2 separate regions of the Homo sapiens genome follow, and region 1 is linked to region 2. The links are contacts of gene promoters, found by promoter capture Hi-C in blood cells and fetal thymus (Javierre and others, 2016). All regions are on one chromosome and are shown on one strand. Each heading gives the region's core, a stretch centred on a gene start or on the middle of the fragment in contact. The rest is flanking DNA. Distances are from core to core; before and after follow the strand shown.

Region 1 (2,700 bases), core at 4-2,503, 35 kb before region 2:
GCACTTTGGGAGGCTGAGGTGGACAGATCACCTGAGGTCAGGAGTTCGAGACCAGCCTGGCCAACATAGTGAAACCTCATCTCTACTAAAAATACAAAAATTAGCTGGCTGTCATGGCATGTACCTGTAATCCCAGCTACTCAGGAGGCTGAGGTGGGAGAATCCCTTGAACCCAGGAGTCAGAGGTTGCAGTGAGCTGAGATCACACCACTGCACTCCAGCCTGGGCGACAGAGTGAGACTCTGTCTCAATTAAAAAAAAAAAAACTTAGCCTAAAGCTACCTCCTTACATATTTTGAGTTCAGCCTAAAGGTTGCTCCATCCATAGTGAACTGTAACCTAACTAGATACGTAAACAGATTGTAACCTACTCTTGGACCAATCACAGCATTTCAGCCAATTAAGGCAGCCAACTATTCGAACTGTGTCCAAACAAGGCAAGCGCCAAGCTGTAACCAATCTAACTTCCATTAGATTATTCCCGTTTTTGTACCTAACTTCCTTTTTCTGTACATAAATTCTTTGTGACTATGAAGCAGTGTCAGAGTCCTTCTGAACCTATGCTGGTTCAGGGGGCTGCCCAATTCACAAAATATTCTTGGTTCAGTAAAACTCTGTTAAATATAATCTGCATAAAGCTTTTCTTTTAATAGAACCCAATTATCTTTTTTCCATAGGTTCACTGGAAAATTAAACAAGAAAAGGCCTAAGCAGTAATGGGCACCTGCTCAATTGTTTCATTCACTCAAACATACTAGCTTTTCTATCTTTGCCCTAGATGTGGCCTCTGTCAAAAATATAGTAACTTCTGAGTGCTTTCAAAGGCTTTAGATATTCAACACAACAGTTCTTTATTTCACCTGCTTTCACACTTCAAACACACAGCTTTCTTTATTCTGACTTGGGGTAGATGTAAGGCTGATTAGGACCTCTTATGTATCTCAAATAGAAAAAAGTCAGACAGTGAGAGAAAATAGAAGGGAAAAGTTTTTTTTAAAACAGCTTGACGAAACTTACAAAGGAGGGCCTGGACTGGATTAAGGAAGGTAGAAGGCCCTAAGTTGATTCTTCCTTTCAACTAACAAGGGAGGAAAGGGCTGAGGCTCTTTCCCTTGTCAAAGACCTCAGGAACTTTCCAGTGATTGAGTAGGGTACCTCAAATATACCTAATTTCATGGCAAATTCTTTAAATAAAACACCATCCTTGGCCTTATTAGGGATTATGCTGTCAAAAAAGAGGATGCAAATGGCAGAAAGTACTGTGGCAGACATTAGCCTAGTTACACCAAAGCCATTCATGATCTGCCCTGTGAAGTCTAAAAAACTAAAGCTCAGTGTACTAGGTGGAGCTTCTGGACAGAGCTTGGCTTTTCTGCTGAAGCCGACAGATTACAATGCTAAGGCCCCTTGTCCCTGCCCTTCCTCATTCTTCCAGCTTGGCATCCAGATGTGAGGGCTAGTGGTGTGGGGCAGCCTTTCCACGTTGAGGTGACAGGCATCAGAAAAGGCCAAGAGAATCCCAGCAAGGCAGGCCCTCGACAAGTTCAGCCTCCAGACTTACCAGGAGAGACTGAAACACCTCTGTTTAAGCTCATGTTAGACAGGTTCTCTGTTACTTGCAAATGAACACATTCCTAACTGAAACCCTCAGCAGTACGCCTCATTGTTGGGGAGCAGGGCAGGGGTGTAGAGTAACCCCCAAGAAGCCATTTGCTAACTGGCAATGTTCTAATGCTGCTTAACTAAATGAGAGATTATACATAAAGTACAGTGTCTCCAGTTTCTATTTCAGTTTATCTTACTAGAAAGCAAATACCAGATTACCAAGCCAAGGATAAAGAGGCTGACTTACAAAAGACTGAAGCTTGAGTTTTACAGAATCCCTGTCAGAAAGACAGATTATAAAATAAAGGTCAATTTTTGAAAAACTGTTAGTACATGTTATAAATTGAAACAATATAATTTTAATGATAGAAAATGCTGTGGTTTTCCATCTATGTATCACTAGCACAGTCCCTGGCACTTACTACATGGGCAAATATTTGTATTAAACAAATAAATATTATTAAGCTTGAATTCATACTTTTAACTTTGGTTTTCTTTTTAACCAGTCAATATTTTTGGTCCTGTTTTCTTGATCAATTTGCATTGGTTTCTTTTTTACATGTTTATAATATGGTAAATCATCTTTCCCATTTGAAATTTTTTAATTTTAAAAAACCCATAATCTCATCACGCTGAGGCTTTTATTTTTCATAGAACCTTCCAGGGAGCCCACATTTAGAAGTAGACTTTATATAGTTGCCATAATAACAAATGTTTTGGGGAAGGATGTTTCTGTTGTATTACGAATATTTTTTGTTTCTAAAATCTCCATAGCTATCTTATTGCATGTATGAATTATATTGAGTACTTATGCTAATGTATTTAAACATTATTCTAACATTGGAGATTTAGGTGTGTTGTAAAGATGGTGTTTCAAATTTGCTGAATTTTTATTTTTTTATTTATTTAGAGACGGAGTCTCGCTCTGTTGCCCAGGCTGGAGTGCAGTGGCTCGATCTCAGCTCACTGCAAACTCCTCCTCCTGGGTTCAAGCGATTTTCCTGTCTCAACCTCCTGAGTAGCTGGGACTACAGGCGCCCGCCACGACGCCTTGCTAATTTTCGTATTTTTAGTAGAGACGAGGTTTCACCATGT
Region 2 (2,700 bases), core at 120-2,619:
AAGTTGGATTTTCCCATCTATTGTTTCTAGTGCAAATGGGGGTGGAGGGGCTTTGTATGATCGTGTTGGTTTCTTTTTAAATAAAAAACTTCAGTGGTGTACAAGGATTTTCAAACAATATTTTATTCCATCCTCCACTCCACCCACTTAAGAAACAAATTTTGGAACAATCTGACTGAGCTACTGGGCAGACAATTGACCAGACCAAATTTAAGCAATCTACAATGCACTTTTTGATGTTACTTGATTATATATGTCACAAAGGAGGCTCTTAAATCTATAGCTGAACTCTTGGTTAAGGAAACCAAGTCTCAATAATCATGTAAAACACATGTGCTATGTCCCTTAGTGGGCTGTCAAATATACTAACTACTGAATTTTCCTTAAATTCTGACATCTCTAGCTATTTAACTTTCCTTTCTTTAAAAAAATTTTTTTTCTCTAAAAAAATTCAAGAACATCCACCAAAGAGAATAGCTAAAAATAATTAAATAGAAAACCACAATTCATAGATCCCCAGGATAAAATTTCCACAGCATTACAGGTGGAAAGAAAATGCGTGCATACACACACATTTACATAAAGATGTAAAAATATTTATGGCACCCTAAGAAAAAAAATGACAGTGAAAGCAAACAATCCTACCACAACAGGACAAACCTAGTTTTACTATTCTCTTTGCGCAGGTATAAAACTAAACAAATGCACTTGCTGGCGGGGAAGGGAGGACAGAGAGCAATTCCCACTTAAACTTGCTTCATTCAGGAGCTAGGGTAACAAACCAAAGCAGCAGAAAAGGCTCCCGTGCAAAACATAACCAGTCTGAAGGTCCCAAATCGGGAAGAACTAAACTAGGGGAAGGGGGATCCCCGAAGCTCTTGAACAACCCGTTCCCCAAATTTCCATGCCACACAACAGGAGCTGGGGGCTTCCCTCGGACTCCATTTTCAGGCCGCGTTGTCTGCCTTTCAGGCCACGCAGGGTGGGCATTTGGGTGAGGCCGGGGTCCCCCACCCACCTTTCCTCCCCGCCCTCTTCATTGTTGTCGGAGTGTGATGGATCACCTGCCGGGCGCGGGCTCCCGCGGGCGGACCGGCTGAGCGCAAGGACGCGCAGTGACGAGCGCCGCGCGCCTCCCGCAGGACCCGCGCCCCGCGACCCCAACCTACTGCCCGCCCCCACCGCGCTCACCGCCACGAAGCCCGAGGAAGAGGCGATGAACACGCGGATGACCATCCTCTCGCTGCGCCCGGGACAGACCCCTTGCCCCCCGGGCTCCGGGCTGGCGTGGACGCAGAGCTGAACCCAGCTACGAGCCGCCGGCAGCCTCTGGGTAAAGCGCTGCCGTCGGGGAAGATCGCTGGGATCTGGCTCCCTCCCGGCGGGTCCGCAGATAAAAGCCCAGCGCCGCCCGGCCGCAGGCTGAAGGGGAAGGAGAGGGAGGAGGAGGGAGCCGGCTGCGGGGCTTGATGGGATTTGTAGTTTCCGTCTCTCCCTGGAGTGGCTGGTGGACTGAGCTCCCCTCCTGACCGCGCTTCTATCCCGAACACGCGCAGGTGGCTGGAGGGGAGCCACAGCCCGGGCAGAAGCTGTGAGGTGGGTTGGCAAGGATCCTGGCTTGATGAGGAAAAAGCAAACTAGGCAAAAGGGCTCGGTTCAAAGTCCAAGCTTGGGTTCTGTATTGTGGTTTATTGGTTTGGAGCATCCACACCCAGAAATGCCAACAGACACGATCGTGCTGCGGGCACACATCGTCTCAGGGCCGCTGGCGTACCGGGCAAACCCCAGCTACCTGAAGCAGGCGGGATCGGCGAGCCGGGTGCTTGGGAGGTGTGGGCGGTGGGGTTGGGCTCGTTTGTTTGTCCAGTAGCACTGGAGATTGCAGAAAGGTGATTCTTTTGGGTAAATGAGAGGTCTTCTCTTGTCTGTACACACTGAAAATTAGAAACCCAGATGGAAGCACAACCAATATTTTATTTTTCTCAGCAAAACTGTAATTGTAGTAGAAAAAAATAAATACCAAACGAAATTGGAATCCTTCTATCAACATTGGAAATCAGGACCCTACCTGCCCCACCCCTCCCTACACAATGGCTTCGCCTCTGTGCACCTAATATTTACAGTTCAGCCAAATCTGTGCCTTTTTCAGAACCGCTGCACATTCCAGCGCAGTTTCCCAGGAGGATGCTGTTAAATAAAAAGCTTCTATATAGTTGCTAATAGTTTAGGAATAGTTTTTTATCAAGTGCTTTCTGTTTGACAAAAGCTCAAGCCTCTCTCTCAGTTTTGTCGAAAGGAACCAGTTTTCCCTGCTGTACTGTATTTACTTTTTTCCTTTCAACACGGGAGTTTAGCAGAGGTCTGGGAACAATGTTAATTAAGAAAAAGTAAGAAATTAGATGATGAGGTCTCTGGCTCTTTGATACATTTCTTGCACAAAGAGCAATCATTATGAAGTATTTTTTAGAACAGTTATGAATATTTCAAATTTATAACCTTTCCTATTGCTTTTCTTAAAGCCATTTCTGTAGTAGGAATCTTTTTAAATTTCCTTCAATAATAGAAGAGACACTCCTAATGGGACTTTATTTCTTCTTCGTGTTTAAAATTTTAAATAGAAGTTTTGCTGTCTTTAGTATCTCTCGGCAAATGTACTTTAATTTTGCTACCATAAATGTGGAAATGCACGTTTATAAAATA

What was found. The method cuts DNA at HindIII sites, captures the fragments that hold promoters and counts their contacts. A CHiCAGO score of 5 or more calls a contact.
Region 1: a fragment that was not itself captured here is called in contact with the fragment with the promoter of SH3BGRL2 in region 2 in 1 of 17 cell types (megakaryocytes); the score reaches 6.8 in megakaryocytes.

What each region holds. Positions count from the first base shown.
Region 1 is chr6:79,665,014-79,667,713 of GRCh38, reverse strand. All of the region lies in intron 1 of SH3BGRL2 (SH3 domain binding glutamate rich protein like 2), which reads right to left. Among named protein-coding and RNA genes, the nearest start is that of SH3BGRL2, 35 kb to the right of the region's middle. The HindIII fragment of the contact is 1,226 bases long and covers 641-1,866 here.
Region 2 is chr6:79,629,998-79,632,697 of GRCh38, reverse strand. It overlaps SH3BGRL2 (SH3 domain binding glutamate rich protein like 2), which reads right to left and starts at 1,369. Exons shown (of 4, transcript NM_031469.4): 1 at 1,192-1,369. The coding sequence starts at 1,236. The HindIII fragment of the contact is 2,885 bases long and covers 1-1,670 here.